Regions from separate parts of the Homo sapiens genome. Here all the other regions are linked to region 2. The links are contacts of gene promoters, found by promoter capture Hi-C in human tissues and cell types (Jung and others, 2019). All regions are on one chromosome and are shown on one strand. Each heading gives the region's core, a stretch centred on a gene start or on the middle of the fragment in contact. The rest is flanking DNA. Distances are from core to core; before and after follow the strand shown.

Region 1 (2,700 bases), core at 86-2,585, 370 kb before region 2:
ATGTGAACATTTGCCACTAGTAGGATCTAGAGTGAAGATTTCTTAACTCTTCATCCTTTCTGTGCTAATTGAATGATGAAGACCCTAGGAGTTTTTCAAAAAATCTCATACAGAGTGCTAACACATCAGTTGATGACATCCAGCCATGACGGATTCAGGCTTGCATAAATAATCTGCAGGAGTTCTTTGAATATATCACAGCCACACTAGATAAAAGATGATCTGGGACTACGATATAGTTAATATTTCAGAAAAAAAAGTGCATTTGATATGTTTCTGCATCAGAGATAAAGGTAAAAGAACCACCGAACATGGGATAAAGAGTACCGAAGCGAAAATTAGTTTTAGAAACACTACAAAGCAAAGACTTTAAAAGCAACTTTTATGTTGGAAAGAAAAAAAAAATATTGAAACTGGGCAGCCCATGTGCAATTAATTGAAGTCCAGTCCTTCCTTAAAAACGCTTTCTAACACACCAAATATCTCACAAAGCTGATGGTGACTAAAAGTCTTTCCAACAGTTTAGTGCAATAGACTTATCACTAAGCTTGGAATGTAAAAATCTAAGTTCTAGCTGATTAAATGATCTTGAGTAATTAGCACTCAGGGTCTCAGATTCCAACCTACAGAATAGGAAATTGGGTCTAGAAAGATTGCCAAAGTCCCTCCTATCTCCACAACTATTTGATTCTAACAGCTCCACGTAGCTCTGGGGAATTTAATCATCAAGCAAGTTTCTCCATTAAGGTGGATAATTAAAATGAGGGAGTACTCTGTAATGCATCAAAACAGATTCAGATTGCTGGCTTTTTCAAATTTACAGTTTCGCTTTCAGTAAAAATTACATGGTATAATCAGTCGAGCTGTGGAAATGGGCTCTGAAGGCTATTGATTCCTGAGTTCTTGATACTTTCATTGACCCTATCAAAACACTTAAATGTTCCAAAGCCTGGAGTGGCCCTGGAGAAGCCCAAGTTGTAACAATTTTGTACTGCCTGAGGTTTATATTACTCCAGAGAGTATGTATTTTGTAATAGGGTTGAAAAGACAGTAAAATTTTTAAAAAGTGGCCACTCCTATAGTAGTGTAGATACATGAACATTTAACCAAATGTATTGCCTTTATTCTGAGTCTGTACATGCGCAGAAATCCCAGCAAAATGTTCTCTAACTAGTCTTATGTGACCCTGGCTTAAAATGTGGGCTGTTAGACTTTTAACTACTTGAGGCCAGGCACAGTGGTTCACATTTGCAATCCCAGCACTTTGGGAGGCAGAGGTGGGCAGATCACCTGAGGTCAGGAGTTCGAGACCAGCTTGGCCAATATGGTGAAACCTTGTCTCTAACTAAAAATACAAAAATTAGCCAGGTGTGGTGCCATGTGCCTGTAATCCCAGCTACTCAGGAGGCTGAGGCAGGAGAACTGCTTGAACTCGGGAAGTGGAGGTTGCAGTGAGCCGTGAGCCAAGATTCTGCCACTGTACCGCAGCCTGGGCAACACAGTGAGACTCCAAAAAAAAAAAAATTTTTTTTGAACTACTTGAAAATAATAGACTGCTTTTATTATGTACAGAGTCAGTATTCCATGCAATTTTGTTGAATTAAATTTAATTCTTCTATCACCAGAGAGCATTTTTTTTAAATGAAGAACATGATTACTAATTTAGATGACATGTAACCAAGTTTAAGGCAGACAAAAAAAAAAGTCTCTATTAGAAACTACAATGGAACATTATGGGGATAAAATGAAAATATTAACTTAAAATTCATTCCTCCATCCCTTTTAGCCCAAATGAGTGAATAATTTTAAAACCTGAAACAAATGTTTTCTCAGTATAACCCTTCTAGAGAAGTACTGCAATTTCACTAAATCACAGAACTCCCATTGCCTTAGATCAGGAGTGTGTATATTATCAGCATCAAACAAAACTCAATTATTTGTAATTGTCAGCAGAGCTGAGAATAAACCTTATTGAAGCATGAACACTGTGAGAAAAAATATATCTGTGCATTCCATCAAAAGCAAGCATTTCTTTGCCTGAATTTTTAAAAATTGTTTTATTTATAATTATTGTAGATATATAATAGTTGTACATATTTATGTATATGTGATGTTTGGATACAGTATACAGTGTGTAATGATCAAATCAGGGTAATTGAGGTATCCATCACCTTAAGCTTTTATCATTTCTTTGTGTTAGGAACATTTCAATTCCACTCTTTTAGTTATTTTGAAATATACAATAAGTTATTGTTAACTATAGTCACCCTATTGTGCCACCAAACACTAGATTTTACTCTATCTAATTGTATTTTCATACTCATTAACCCTCCCCTCTTTACCCCCCTTCTCCATTACCCTTCCCAGCCTGTGGTAACCATCATTCTATTCTCTATAATTTGTAATAATTATACTTCTAGAGCAAAAGATAAACTCTGCCTACCTGGGTCTTGATTCTCTTAGGACGGATAAGTCATGTCCAAGAATAGAATACAAAAAGAGAAAATGGTGTCAGTAGTATGGTGTTATACTGGTGTGCTATACTAAATGGTGTCTGTTTCAGGTAAAATGACATTAGAATTCAGAATGAAGGAGTGATTCCAGCTGGAGCAATTAGGAATCAGGGAAGTCATTGTAAACAAAGTGGCATTTTTGATAGACCTGGACTTTAAAATATGGAAATTAGTGCAGAGCGTGATG
Region 2 (2,700 bases), core at 96-2,595:
TAACCTCCTGGGAATGCAGCCCAGTAGGTTTCAGCCTTATTTTACCCAGCCCCTATTCAAGATGGAGTTGCTCTAGTTCAAACGCCTCTGACAACTAGTCACCCTGCTGTGCTATCAAATACTTGATATTATTCATTCTTTCTAACTGGAATAATATTTTTTAAATAGTAAAGAGTGAGATACATGAACTCCAAATATCTGAGACAGGTCACAATCAACTCAGAAAGTTTATTTAGCCAAAGTTAAGAACTTGCATCCATGACATGGCACAGATCCTGACAACATGCGCCCAAGGTGGCTGGGGCACAGCTTGGTTTTACACATTTTAGGGAGACATGGGGCAGCAATCAATATATGTAAGATAAACATTGGTCTGATCTGGAAAAGCGGGGCAACTCCAAGTGGGGAGGAAGTTCCAAGTCATAGGTAGATAACAGACAGTTGCATTCTCTTATGAGCCTCTCCAAATGAGGCAATCAGACATGCATTTATCTCAGTGAGCAGAGGGGTGACTTTGAATAGAATGGGAGGCAGGATTCCCTAAGCAGTTCCCAGTATGACTTTTCCCTTTAGCTTAGTGATTTGGGGGTCCCATGATTTATTTTCAATTCATAAGATATAAAAAAGATATAAAAAAGAAAGGTACACCTGAGTAAATATCTACTCAACAGGGAAGCAGGATACATGTTCTCTTTGCTTTCCCTGTTTCCTTGATAGCCATGCACCTTATGTTTATATTCCTCATTATTTGATGAAGTTAATCATTGCAATAAGAGAAATACGAAAGACTCTAGAACTCTAGACACGAAAGCAATTATACAGCCTTTATGACACGCAAATTTATTCACTCTGTAAAAAAAAAGTAATTACTTTCGGTAGGGTCTCCCATGTATCTTCCAAAAGGCAGACTGCTCTGGGTGCATGTAAAAATTAACACGATACCCTATACAAAAGGGAATGCTCAGAGTTAACAGCTAGAGAAGAGAGGCGCCAATCTTAGACACAGGCTTATTCCTCCGCACCCTCCCCCAAAACAAATGGAGGACAGAAGAAAAAAGAAAAGTAGTTAATACAACTATTACTCTACGGAAATATTAGGGGTAGCGCAAACAAAGTTCTGACACTAAACTTTACTGAGCCCTGCATCCTGCCCACGACCCCCCCAGAAACACCTACGCACCACTCTCCTAGCCGCCGCAGCCCCGCCAGTCTCGCCGGGAGGAACCCCCAGCGCCGCGGTACAACCACGGCACTTCCGCCCGCCCCCCGCGCCTCGGGCGCAAGCGTTTGGTGTGTCTGCGTCGGGGGCGGAGCCTCTTGTCCCTCTGCGCGGCCCGTTCCGCCTCTCTTCTCCCACCGCCTGTCGGCTGACGTGTCTGCAGTTCCTCCGCGTCTACTGCGAGTCAGGCCGTGATGGCGGACGCCTGGGAAGAGATTAGGCGGTTGGCGGCCGACTTCCAGCGGGCGCAGTTCGCCGAGGCCACGCAGAGGTGCCCGACCCTCCCTCTCCTTTGTGGAGCCCAAATTAGGCCGTGGGCGGACACGCCTGTATCTGGGACTTTAGACCCGCGGCCCTGCATCCCGGGTCTTCTCGCTGCTTGTCACCATTCTCTCCTCCTCCCTCTGTCCCGAGCCTGGATCGCAGTTCCAAGTCCAAGGCTCGGCGGGAAAGTCCTCAGCCTAGGACGCCCTGGAGCCCCCCAGCCCAGCTGCAGCGAAATGCTGGCGCGCCCCGCCCCACCATGGACGGGGCCGGTGATTTCGAGCTGCCTTTATTGAGCATTTCTTTGACCCTCCCTCACCCACCAACCACCAAATCACTGTGACATCTTGGCTATTATACACTTCCTGATCTAGAATGAGCTCGAAAGGAGAGGCTAACCCCCGCCCCCAGTACAGTACTTGGCAAATAGTATGTTGATCCTTAAAACTTCTTGCCCTTTTATCTCTCGTAACAGACCTAGGGCTAGACCCCTGACCCCATCTGTTATTCAGGGCACTGACATTTTCTACAAGCCCACTAACCTTTGGAGGATGTGTCCAGAGGAGCCTAACTCTGCTTTTTAAAAATAACGCTAATAGAAGCCTTTCTATTCTTTGACTACTTCCTACCTGCGATGTTTTATTCCTTTTGAGCCGGAAGACAGCAATCCCCTTATGCTGTATTTTCTACCACTGATAGCAAACTCGTAACTGCATGGGTAACTAACGTGGGTAAAAGTTATGGTTTCACTAGGCCACATCCCCTGCCTGCTTGCAGACCATGTGTGTAAGTGAGGCAATTATGCACTTAATTTAAAAGAAAATTCTGATTAAACTGGAAATTAGGGCATTTTTTGTTTTGTTTTGTTTTGTTTTTTCTTTTTTCCTACCTAAATAAATGTCTTCAATTTTCCCTTCAGATTTGAAGATTGGAAGCAGGCCTGTAAGAGACAACAGACTTGAAATTTGTGATGGGATGATGTGTACCAATTAAATAAATGATTTAAGCATATGTAAACCTACTTACTCTGAAAGGTTTTTTTTTAACTTATTGAATCAGTTAGTGAAAAATACAGATATTGTGATGTAGAAGTTAGTGACTAAACAAACTTTTTAAAAGCCTGTTTTCATACATTGTATTAATTTTATTGAGCGCCAATGTCTCAAGTGGACTTTTGAAACAACTTTTTTTCTTTCCCTCAGGTTGTCCGAGCGGAA
Region 3 (2,700 bases), core at 124-2,623, 510 kb before region 2:
ATTCTCTGAATTTACAAATTGATTTTAATTTTTGTAGGATGTTAAAGATAATACAAAAGAACAGAGGGCCTAAAAGAGCAATAATAAAAACCCCAAGGAGAAGGGATAAAAGATGAGAATACAATATTAATAAATTAACATAAGAAGTTTATTATTTAAGAAAATGATAAGAAGACTTATATTACTATCACAAGCATAGTCATCTTATGAATGCTGATAAACACAACAGATAACATTTATGAAAGACTCACTCTATGCCAGGCATTCTTCCTAAAGATTTGGTATGCAATGACTCTTTTAATCATTGAAAAAATGATCCTATAAAGTAGATACTAATATTGCACTTCCATTTTATAGATAAGGGAAGTGACTAAGTATGTTAATAGATTTTCTAATACAGTAACATTCCTACCTTTTTGGAAAAAAAGAAAAATACACTTAGTGTTGATACAGTAATGTGCTATTGAGGTTCATTTGTTAATATTTTAATTAGGATTTTTGCACTGACGCTGTTAAGTGAGATTGGCCTGAAAAGTGTATTGACATTTAATATTCAAAACTTTACTTATATTTTATAAAGTATTAAGACTTATCAATGGTGGGCTTCATGCTAGCTCCTTGAATATCTTATAATTGCTGCTGTAGGAATGCTGGTGATATATAATCTTCTACACAGATGTTCATAATTGCTTTGTTTTCATAGCAAGGTGTCTGTTCTGTGATCACCTTAAAATATCCTTCTTTATCTTGTTTAACATGTTTTAGGCTTTATGCCACCTTATCTCTGACTAAGATTGCAACGCCTGCTTACTCTTTGTTTCCATTTCCCTGATAAATGTTTGTTCATCTTTTTATTTTTTAAGTGTTCTGAGTTTTCTTGCGGTAGATATAAAACACAGAACTCTATTTTCAGTGATAAAGTATAAAAATCTTTATTTTTGTCTATAAAACAGGAGATTATTTACATTTATTGATATAATGGAAATACTTACTTTTGGTTCTGACATATTGTGTTATGTTTTCACTTGTTATTTTGTAAAACTCCTTCATTTTGTGTTCTGTTTTATTTTTTCTGTGTGTGTGTGTGTGTGTGTGTGTGTGTGTGTTTGAGACAAGGTCTTGCTTTGTCACTCAGGTTGAAGTTAAGTGAATCATGGCTCACTGCAGCCTTAATCTCCCAGGCTCAAGCTATCCTCCTGCCTCAGCCCCTCGAAGTAGCTGGGACTACAGGAGTGTGCCACCACGCACGGCTAATTTTTGTGTTTTTTTGTAGAGTTAGGGCTTCACCATGTCACCAGGCTAGTCTCAAACTCCTGGGCTCAAACGATCTGCCCGCCTCAGCCTCCAAAAGTGCTAGAATTACAGGTGTTAGCTACCACGCCCAGCGTATATATGTATTCTTAATATTTACAAAGATTTTCATTTTGTTCTGTGTTACTTTTGTAATTATTTATCTGCATTGCTCTATATTTTAGTTAAAGTAAGAAATGTTTCTGTTAGTTTGTTAAAGTAGGTAATGATAAAAATTAGTGTTTCTTATTCCTCCATGCCTTCCTGCTTGACTAGATAATTTATCAAATAATTTGGATTAAATTTCATCTTTGTGTTGCTAAATGTCATGCTACTTATTTGTTCTTTTAAGTGGTTTTGTTGGACTCTCAGCCATTAGACAATTGATGCCATTATATCTCATATCATTTTTATATTGTCAGAGTCTATTTTTCCTATAAGGTTTATATTGCATTATACTGCTTTAATTCTCATATTCTAACATTGTAGATCAGTAGATAAATACACTGAATGTATTAACTTGAAAATCAGTCCTTGATTCAGCATGTCTCTTTTATTTATTTATTAGAAAGCTGAATTTCATTCATTATTCTAGTGATTTCCTGAAGGTGGTTTCATAAGAATAATAGTCCCTGAGTTCTTGCATCTTCACCATTGTTTGTCTATTCCCATTGTACTTGAAAAACCATTTAGCTAAAAAGAAAAAGAAAACCTTAGTTTTATTTTATTTTCTTTGGTTTCTTGTAAGCTTTGTTGCACTGATATTGAATGGCTCGATTCCACTAAAGTTGCAGTGAAGACTTCTGAGGCCAGTATCAGTATTTTTCTTTATAAGCTACTGATTGCTTTGCCTGCATGCCTAAAAAAATTCTTTTTTAAATTTAAATTCTAGTTACTGTACTAGGACACATCTCAATGTCAATGATTCTGGGGCAATTTTTCCTGGTAATCATTGTTTCTTTTCAAAGTGAAATATCAAGTCATCTTTCATTTGAAGAATGTTTCTTTCTTTAATAATATATTGACATATTTATTTTCCCATCACTTATTTCTTTTCTCTAATTATGTATCTATTGGATTACCATTCCCTATCTTCTCCATCTTTTGTATTCTCTCTAATCCTGTCTATTTTTTCTTTACTTGCATTTCATTTTGTTAGCCTTCCTTATTTCTGTCTCTTCTTTTCCTTGCTGTGTCTATCTCAGTGTCCATTTTATCTTGTAATTCTTCCATTTATAGTCTTAATTCGTGAAGGTATTTTTTTTCCTCACTTCTTTTCTGAGTTCCCCCAGCTATGTGTCACCAGCTCCTATTGTCTCTCATCATCCCTTCCCAAGTTCTTGCATTTGTACCTTGTAGTTTTCATTTATAAAAGCAATTCCTTCATTGTGCCTTCTTGAAAATTTCTGC

The links. Contacts are between HindIII fragments. The study calls those that stand out against the background at their distance.
Region 1: a contact is called between a fragment that was not itself captured here and the fragment with the promoter of UFL1 in region 2, in 2 of the 25 tissues and cell types used here (dorsolateral prefrontal cortex and hippocampus).
Region 3: a contact is called between a fragment that was not itself captured here and the fragment with the promoter of UFL1 in region 2, in 2 of the 25 tissues and cell types used here (dorsolateral prefrontal cortex and hippocampus).

Annotation. Positions count from the first base shown.
Region 1 is chr6:96,147,647-96,150,346 of GRCh38, forward strand. The region is part of intron 2 of FUT9 (fucosyltransferase 9); the gene reads left to right. Among named protein-coding and RNA genes, the nearest start is that of FUT9, 130 kb to the left of the region's middle. The HindIII fragment of the contact is 3,489 bases long and covers 1-2,700 here.
Region 2 is chr6:96,520,461-96,523,160 of GRCh38, forward strand. UFL1 (UFM1 specific ligase 1) reads left to right here and starts at 1,346. Exons shown (of 19, transcript NM_015323.5): 1 at 1,346-1,490; 2 at 2,686-2,700. The coding sequence starts at 1,414. UFL1-AS1 (UFL1 antisense RNA 1) reads right to left here and starts at 1,254. Exons shown (of 4, transcript XR_007059687.1): 1 at 1-1,254. RefSeq lists enhancers at 1-62, 63-934, 935-1,806, 951-1,140, 1,807-2,678. The HindIII fragment of the contact is 7,421 bases long and covers 1-2,700 here.
Region 3 is chr6:96,009,238-96,011,937 of GRCh38, forward strand. The region is part of intron 1 of LOC107986626 (a long non-coding RNA gene); the gene reads right to left. Among named protein-coding and RNA genes, the nearest start is that of FUT9, 5.4 kb to the right of the region's middle. The HindIII fragment of the contact is 8,220 bases long and covers 1-2,700 here.